Linked DNA regions of Homo sapiens: region 2 is linked to region 1. Evidence: promoter capture Hi-C in human tissues and cell types (Jung and others, 2019). All regions are on one chromosome and are shown on one strand. The core of a region is centred on a gene start or on the middle of the fragment in contact, and the rest is flanking DNA. Distances in the headings are between cores, read along the strand shown.

Region 1 (4,317 bases), core at 642-3,141:
CGGGCAGCTGGCGGCGAAGGAGACGCGGAGGACGCCAGCCCTTGGGAAGCGCACGTGGGGCTTGCCCAGCAGCGCCTGGGGGCACGTGTGCTGCCCCGGGGCGCGCTGCCCTGGCTAAAAATACAACGCGCACCCGCGTCCTCCCTGGTGGGGGAGGCGGCCCTAGGGAGGAGATACTGCTGGAGCCTCGTTTTTCTGGGATTACAGGCGTGAGCCACCGCGCCCGGCCCATTTTCTTAATCTTCCCAGGCTCCCGAGAAACCTGGTACAAGCCTCGCACTGCCCCTCAGTCCTCTCATCTGTGGAATGGGGGCCGTTCATGTATTCGATAAATATTGAACGTGTACGTTGTACCAGGCACTGCTGCAGGCGTCCAGCTTAACTACAAGGCTCTTACTGCTGTGGAGTTTACAGCCCACTGTGTGCAGGGAAATAAAATAAGCAAATGGTCAGGATCATGTCATATTTTCAAAAATGCCATTAGAAAAATAAGGAATGGTGTGATGGCGAAGAGTGGCACGTAAGCTGCTGCTTGGAGAGAGCCACCTGGAGACACGAAGGCGCGTTTTCGGCAGAGGAAACCGCATGTGCAAAAGGCCTCGAGTCCGCTGGAGCTTGACGCCTGGCCGGAGACCACAGCCCCCGGCATACAGACGTGAGAGACCCCAAAGCCAGTCTAGGGCGGTAGACATCAGAGCTGCAGCGGTCGGTATGGGCCACATGGGTGGACACATTGATCAAAACTCAGCGAAGGCCGGGCACGGTGGCTTACCCTGTCATCCCAACACTTTGGGAGGCTGAGGCGGGCGGATCACCAGAGGTCAGGAGTTCGAGACCAGCCTGGCCAATATGGTGAAACCCCATCTCTACTAAAAATACAGAAATTAGCCAGGTTGTGGTGGCGCAAGCCTGTAATTCCAGGTACTCAGGAGGCTGAGGAGGGAGAATCGCTTGAACCCGGGAGGCAGAGGCTGCAGTGAGCCCAGATCGCGCACTGCGCTCCAGCCCGGGCGACAGAGGGAGACCTTGTGTCAAAACAAACAAACAAACAAACTCAGCGAAGAAGAATTGCGCATTGTACTACTTGTAAACCTTGTTTCCAATACAAACATAGGTAGGGGCAGGCCGGGAGCCACCTTGAGGTGGCTCAAGGCAGGAGAATCGCTTGAACCAGGGAGGCGGAGGTTGTAGCGAGCCGAGATCGCGCCACTGCACTCTAGTCTGGGCGACAGGGCGAGACCCTGTCTCAAAAAAAAAAAAAAAAAGAAAAGAAAAGAAAAAGAAAGAAAAAAGAAAAGTAGGGGGTCCTGGCTCATGGGAGCAAGTGTGAGCCGGGAAAACCATTCTGCTGCGCTTTCCAGCCTATCCTGCGGTTGGATCCCGCAGCCCCAGGGTGTGCAGGGCCGTCCTGTGGGGAGAGGGTGCCAAGGGCGGTGGTGGCCGGAAGGCGTCTGCACCTGGCAGCATACGGGCAAGGTCGGTCTCGAGGGTGGAGGCGAGCGGTGCTACTCACTGCCAGAACCGAGGCTGCAGATTCCCGCCCCTCGCTCAGGTCGTTAGGGGCAACCTTGGCACTGCGGCCCCGGCCCCGCCCTTCCCGCAGAGGCCAGGTGGCGGTTGGGGCGCGACCGGCCCGTTTGATTTCCCGCGGCCGGTGGAAAGGGGCGGAGGGGGGAGGGGAAAGGGGCCGCCGGCCAATGGGTTGGGCCGGGGGCCGTCACGTGGCGGCCAGGGGGCGGGGCCCAGGTGTACTTACTGGGCGGCTGGCGGGGGCCGGGGCCGCGGTGCGAAGTCCGGGAGGCGGGGTCGGCGTGCGGTCCGGGGGTGCTGCTGGGCTGGGATTGGCCCGTGGTCGGGAGGCGGGGTCTGCGCGAGCGGCGGCAGCGGGCTGCCATTGGCCTCGGCTCCGGGCCCGCTGCCGGCGTGTGGGCGAGGCTCGGGGCGCGAGGACCGAGCAGGGCGGTGGGTTCGCGAGCCGGGGGGAGGGGCCGGGGCGGTGGCGGCTGTGGCCGGTACTGGACCCGGCGGGATGAGCGAGGTGGAGGCGGCAGCGGGGGCTACAGCGGTCCCCGCGGCGACGGTGCCCGCGACGGCGGCAGGGGTGGTAGCGGTGGTGGTACCGGTGCCCGCAGGGGAGCCGCAGAAAGGCGGCGGGGCGGGCGGCGGGGGCGGAGCCGCCTCGGGCCCCGCTGCTGGGACCCCCTCGGCGCCGGGCTCCCGCACCCCTGGCAATCCGGCGACGGCGGTCTCGGGAACCCCCGCCCCCCCGGCCCGGAGTCAGGCGGACAAGCCGGTGCTGGGTGAGGGGCAGGCGCGCACAGGGCGGCTCTGAGGGGTCGGCGGGCTGGGGGAGGGGCAGTGTGGAGCCCGGCAGGATCCGGAAAACCAAAGGCGGCCTGGCCCGCAGGCCCAGAGCGCTAACTGGGCTGGGAGCTGCGCACCAAAGTGGATTCCCCTGGTGGGAAATCCTGCCGTACCTTCCTGGGAGAGAGGGCGGGGCCGGCAGGTTCAGCTAAGGTCTTGGGGTGGAGAATAAAGCCCCAGGGTCCGGCCACGCCCCCGGGCGGGACACAGTGCCTAGTTGACTGGGTTAGAACTAGGCAAACCTCTGAGCCTGGCAAGCAGGTGCACTGGGGACCCTTGCATTGGGAGGGCTAGAAAAACCCTCAGTTATGACCTGGGGGCGGCACTTTGCAGACCAGGTGAGTACCCAGTTCTAGGTGAAGGGGCTGGATTTGTAGGATGTGGGGAACGTGACTTAGAGTTGGAAGGCTTTTTGAAAGCCTGAGTCCCTGTGTGGGTGATTTCATTTGGTGGACTAGGGTAGGAATACCTTGAAGCTACTAGTGAAACCTGGTTGGCTTGAAGGTAACCTGAATAGGTAATAAGGCAGTAGGCTAGATTTTTTTTTGTTTTGGAGTGTCTCAAAACTGAGTTCAACTCCATCTCTTCCCCCCATCTCACTGTCCCCACTGCATCTCTGCCTGGCAGCAATCCAAGTCCTGGGCACTGTCAAATGGTTCAACGTCCGGAATGGTTACGGATTCATCAACAGGTATCCAAGGAACCCAGGGCGGGGGTGGAATGGGTGTCTTCCCAGCTGGCCTGTGGGACTGGACACCCGCCCAACCTCATCGACCCCTGCGGAGGCACATGGTTGCAATGTCCAGCTGATGCTGGTTGAAAGCCTTTAACCGCAGCACAAATGTGTGCTTCGTGACAAGAGGAAGCCTCCTCCGCATCTTCAAGGGTAGCGGAGGATTAATGATTCAGGAACTTGGCAAACCTGGCTCTGACCCTGCCAGCTTCTCATCTCACCTTCTGGAATTGCTTCATTACTTTTACTCTGACATGCCTTTGGGGCAGAATGTATTATAGGGTTCTCTGTGCCTCAGGGCCCCCGGCTGGAATCCTCAACTGATTTCCTGTTATGGCAGCACTCACAACTCAACTCCCTTAAAGAGCTGTGGCTCATTCGAGCCCTCCACCTGTTGGGACTGAGGCTGACAGTGGGGGTCAGGAGGAAGGAGCCAGAGGCTGCTGCTTTCCTTCAGTAGGCAGCCCCACCCCTCAGCACCGGGAGAGGCTGTGGCAGTGGATTCTGAGCAGAGCCAGGTCTCCCCCAGTGGGCCCTTCCCCAGCCCAGGCATCCTGCCCGGCCTGGCTCTCCTGGGAGGCCCTAGTTCCCTCTTAGCAGGCTGACCTTTGTGCAGATCCAAGTGCTTTAAAGCTAAAACGTTTGTTCTGGGGAAGGGTCCCTGTCTAATTCTGGAAATGGCAGACTGGGTCGGGGGCAGAGTGCCTCCAGGAAAACTTTTCCTTTCTCCCCTCCCCCCACCCACTGGGGTTCTTATGATAGAGAATGGGTGAATGTTTTCTTCTCTCTCACCCTTGGTCCCACGCGTGTTGAGAGTGGTCCTGACTCTGGGATTCACCTCCAGGCTGAGGATGAGAATAAAGTTTGGCAGCTGTTTAGAGCAAGTTCCTGACACATTGTTCCCTTCTCAAACTTGTTCTGCCCCTCTGGCCCCATCTGCACTTTCTGCCTCCTTGACTATAGAAGGAAGAAGACTGGAATTTTCCAACCCTGATGGGGGTTGGGGGAGGGGGTGTTGGCCAGGGACAGTTGCACCCAGCGCTGGCAGGTTGTAAGGCTAGCCTGGGGTGGAAGGTGGAGTCCCGGCAGGGGCAGAGCTGTCTGAGGTTCCTCAAGGTGCCTTTGCCTCCCCAGCCTGCCCTTTCCTTGTGAAGTCCAGGTTTGGCACTGAGGTTTTAGGTGTATCTCTCTTTACACCAGCTTCTGGGGGCCCTGCTGGC
Region 2 (4,317 bases), core at 1,044-3,543, 150 kb after region 1:
TTAGTAGAGACGGGGTTTCGCCATGTTGGCCAGGCTGGTCTCAAACCCCTGACCTCAGATGATCTGCCCACCTTGGCCTCCCAAAGTGCTGGAATTACAGGCTTGAGCTGTTGACTCCCTCTTGAGTTCCTTCCTGTGTAAAGCCAAGAACCCATGTGACCTCCTGGGCTGAGCCTCTAATTTTGGGGTCGCCCTGTGACAGGATTACAGGCATGTGCTACCACGCCTGGCTAATTTTTTTTTTTTGGAGGGAGAGGGGTCTCACTATGTTGCCCAGGCTGGTCTCGAGCTCCTGGGCTCAAGCCATTCTCCTGCCTCAGCCTCCCAAATTGCTGGGATTACTGGCAGGAGCCACTTTGATAGACCAGTATTTTTTTTGAAGGAGAATTAAAAAAAGAATTTATGTACAGAAAACTCAACAGTGGACGTTTAACCCAGTTTAGTGGCAAGTTCTTTAGCCTTTGCCTTTTGCAGTTTAGCAATGTCTGAGCCAGATTTTGGACCCAGGGCATTGCTGTAGCCACCCAACGGGTTCACCTTGCCTGCTGCCTAGACACAGCCGATTTATTAAGACAGGGAAATTGCAATGGAGAAAGAGCAATTCACGCAGAGCCGGCTGTGCGGGAGACCGGAGGCTTTTTCTTTTGAGATGGAGTTTCACTCTTGTTGCCCAGGCTGGAGTGCAATGGCGTGATCTCAGCTCACTGCAGCCTCCAACTCCCAGGTTCAAGAGATTCTCCTGCCTCAGCCTCTTGAGTGGCTGGGACTACAGGCGCGTGCCACCATGCCCAGCTAATTTTTGTATTTTTAGTAGAGACGGGGTTTCACCATGTTGGCCAGGATGGTCTCGATCTCTTGACCTCGTAATCCCCCCATCTCAGCCTCCCAAAGGGCTGTGATTACAGGCGTGAACCACCACGCGCGGCCTGTCAGGCCTCTGAGCCCAAGCTAAGGCATCACATCCCCTGTGACCTGCACGTATACATCCAGGTGGCCTGAAGCAACTGAAGATCCACAAAAAAAGTGAAAATAGCCTTAACTGATGACATTCCACCATTGTGATTTGTTTCTGCCCCACCCTGACTGATCAATGTGCTTTGCAATCTCTCCCAACCTTAAGAAGGTTCTTTGTAATCTCCCACAACCTTAAGAAGGTTCTTTGTAATCTCCCACAACCTTAAGAAGGTTCTTTGTAATTCTCCCCACCCATGTATACTTTGTGAGATCCACTCCCTGCCTGCAAAACATTGCTCCTAACTCCACCGCCTATCCCAACACCTGTAAGAGCTAGTGATAATCCCACCACTCTTTGCTGACTCTCTTTTCGGACTCAGCCCGCCTGCACGCAGGTGAAATAAATAGCCTTGTTGCTCACACAAAGCCTGTTCGGTGGGCTCTTCACTCGGACGCACGTGACACGGCCCAGAGTTTTACTATTTCTCAAATCAGTCTCCCAGCATTCAGAGATCAGAGTTTTTAAAGATAATTTGGCGGATAGGGGCTTGGGAAGTGAGGAGCGCTGACTGGTCAGGTTGGAGACGGAATCATAGGAGATCAAAGTGAGATTTTCTTGCTGTCTTCTGTTCCTGGGTGCGGTGGCAGAACTGGTTAGGTCAGATTATGAGTCTGGGTGGTGTCAGCTGATCTATCGAGTGCAGGGTCTGAAAAGTATCTCAAGTACTGATCTTAGGTTTTACAATAGTGATGTTATTCCCAGGAGCAATGTGGGGAAGTTCCGACTCTTAGAGTCAGAGTCTGCATGACCCCTAAACTACAATTTCTGATCTCGTAGCTAATCTGTTAGTCTTGCAAAGGCAGACTGGTCCCCAGGCAAGAAGAGTCTTTTCGGTTAAGGGCTATTATCAATTTTGTTTCAGAGTCAAACCACGAGCTGAATTCCTCCCCGAAGTTTGTTCAGCCCACGCCGAGGAATGGACAAGGACAGCTTAAAGGTTAGACGCAAGATGGAGTCGGTTAGGTCTGATTTCTTTCACTGTCATAATTTCCTCAGTTATAATTTTTGCAAAGGAGGTTCCATTGCCTCCCCAGTGACTGTGGATCTCGTCACACCTGCCATTGTAATCGGTCCTGATAGCTTCCGCCACCTTAGCCAGAGCTGCTTTGTCTTCCCAGTGAGCCTGTGTGAAGGTGACAGTCTTTTCTGGGGTCTTCCTGCAGACCAGGCATCTCCGTCCTGCCTTCCCCTGGATAACGCAGTAAGGGAACCCCACTGTAGGACACAGCGCAGACAGAGAGACAGCAAGCTCGACGAGAGTCACGTGCAGTCACCACCAGCTGAGGCTTCTTGTTCTCCACCAAGGTGCTGTCGGGGTTAACCCTGCTCGTGGGACAGTTGGGGTCTTCATGGAGATGCCCCCTTTGCCGGCAGCTTTCTTCTCTGCACGGGCCAATAGCCTCTGCTTCTTTTCTTGCCCTGTCTCTGGTCTGTACCATGGTCCAGCTGATGCAGTTGAGGAGCTGTTTTCTCGGTCCAAGGCCTGGATGAGTCGGTCACTTGCAGGAGGCACTTTCAGCTGCTCGTGGAGGTCAGCCGTTTGCCACTGCAACCAGATGTAGTTGGGCCATTCAACAATCAACAAAGCAGGTGAGGTCCCTTTTGGGCTGGATAGCCTGTTCAATGCCAGATTCTTAAGCCTTTTCTCAAATGCCGAAATTCTTTTTTTTTTTTTTTTTTTTTTGAGACGGAGTCTCACTCTGTTGCCCAGGCTGGAGTGCGGTGGCGCGATCTTGGCTCACTTCAACCTCTGCCTGCTGGGTTCAAGCAATGAGCAATGAGCCACTGTGCCCGGCCTCGACTGCCTTCTTATTTCTGCGATTGCCACCAGATGCTGCTGCTGCAAACAAGTCCCGCTCAGCCAGAGGCCACCCCTGCCGTGGCTGCGCTGTAGTCACCGTGGATCTGGCTATAGTTTGATGCAGTAATACGGGAGCTAAAAAGAAATTACTTAGGCAGTTGGTGAGGGTAAGAGAGTCCTCGGTAAGGCATCCCTTTTAACAAAAAGCAGCCCCCACATCATTTCTTTTCTAACAAAGAGCAGCCTGTAAAATCGAGCTGCAGACATTGACAGGCAAGCTGGAAGCTTGAACGGGTGAATGGCGGCAGCCGTGCCAATCGGAAAAGGCTACCTGGGGCCAGGCATGTTCAACATGGAGGCTTCATCTTCCCTTTTCCTTATCAACCACCTGTACAGTAAAGGAAGCAGCAACATGATGCCAACCAGGTAGAGAATCCATTTGCATAATAAAAGATTAGGGTGGGGCGGCCAGCTTCTTCTTGCACTATGTAAATGGCATACCTGGTCCCGCAATCTTTTGGGCTCTGTGTAAATCAGACACTGCCTGGCCGGGTGGGTGCGGCGGCTCTCGCCTATAATCCCAGCACTTTGGGAGGCTGAGCCGGGTGGATCACCTGATGTCAGGAGTTTGAGACCAGCCTGACCAACATGGTGAAACCCCGTCTCTACTAAAAATACAAAAATTAGCCGGGCGTGGTGTGCATGCCTGTAATTCCAGCTACTCGGGAGGCTGAGGCAGGAGAATCCCTTGAACCTGGGAGGCAGAGGTTGCGGTGAGCCGAGATCGTGCCACTGCACTCCAGCCTGGGCAACAAGAGCGAAACTCTGTCTCAAAAACAAAACAAAACAAAACAAGGCAAAACCTCCAAATCAGACACTGCCTCCTCAAGCTCACCTATAACACCCAGTGCATTTCACCTCGGAGCCAGAAGACCGACTTGGGAGCCCCTCCCTCTCTGCAGGAGAGAGAGCTTTTCTTTCTCTTGCCTATTAAACCTCTGCTCTTAAACTCACTCGTCGTGTGTGCCTGCATCCTCAATTTCCTTGGCATGAGACGATGAACCTTGGGTATTACCTCAGACAACGAGCTTCAAAAGCTTAATGGAACAGACCGTCTACCCCTGTTGTGCCCTGCTTAGCTCTGTCCCGGAAGCCACTAGGCACCTAGGCTGTGACAGTTTCAGTCTTTAACCCCCAATGACAGCTTGCTCAGGGCACACCCAGTCCCTCCTTAGTGCTGCTGAGCAACTGCACCGTGTCCTCGGGCTCCAGAGGAAAAAACACTTCAGTTCATAGCCCTGCTCAGCAGAGGTCCTCAAAGCACATCTTCTCAGCCTCTATCTGGTGAGGGGGCACCTTCAGCCTGTGCCAAACGCGGCTTCCCTCACAAACCCTACCAGGCCTTAGCACTGATACAGGATTCTAGGGACTGAATGTTTCTGTCCTCCCCACCCCGGATTCATAGGTGGAAGCCCTACTCCACAGTGTGATGATATTTGGA

Evidence for each region. Contacts are between HindIII fragments. The study calls those that stand out against the background at their distance.
Region 2: a fragment that was not itself captured here is called in contact with the fragment with the promoter of YBX2 in region 1 in 1 of the 25 tissues and cell types used here (spleen).

The regions. Positions count from the first base shown.
Region 1 is chr17:7,292,213-7,296,529 of GRCh38, reverse strand. It overlaps YBX2 (Y-box binding protein 2), which reads left to right and starts at 1,891. Exons shown (of 9, transcript NM_015982.4): 1 at 1,891-2,300; 2 at 2,992-3,055. The coding sequence starts at 2,030. It overlaps LOC124903912 (a long non-coding RNA gene), which reads left to right. Exons shown (of 2, transcript XR_007065602.1): 2 at 1-452. RefSeq lists silencers at 1-88, 1,627-1,796, 1,827-1,946, 2,364-2,539. The HindIII fragment of the contact is 17,351 bases long and covers 1-4,317 here.
Region 2 is chr17:7,139,312-7,143,628 of GRCh38, reverse strand. It overlaps LOC105371512 (a long non-coding RNA gene), which reads right to left. Exons shown (of 3, transcript XR_934191.3): 3 at 2,866-2,951. It overlaps LOC124903910 (a long non-coding RNA gene), which reads left to right and starts at 1,005. Exons shown (of 2, transcript XR_007065600.1): 1 at 1,005-1,154; 2 at 1,186-1,380. It also overlaps the pseudogene RPL7AP64. The HindIII fragment of the contact is 4,120 bases long and covers 234-4,317 here.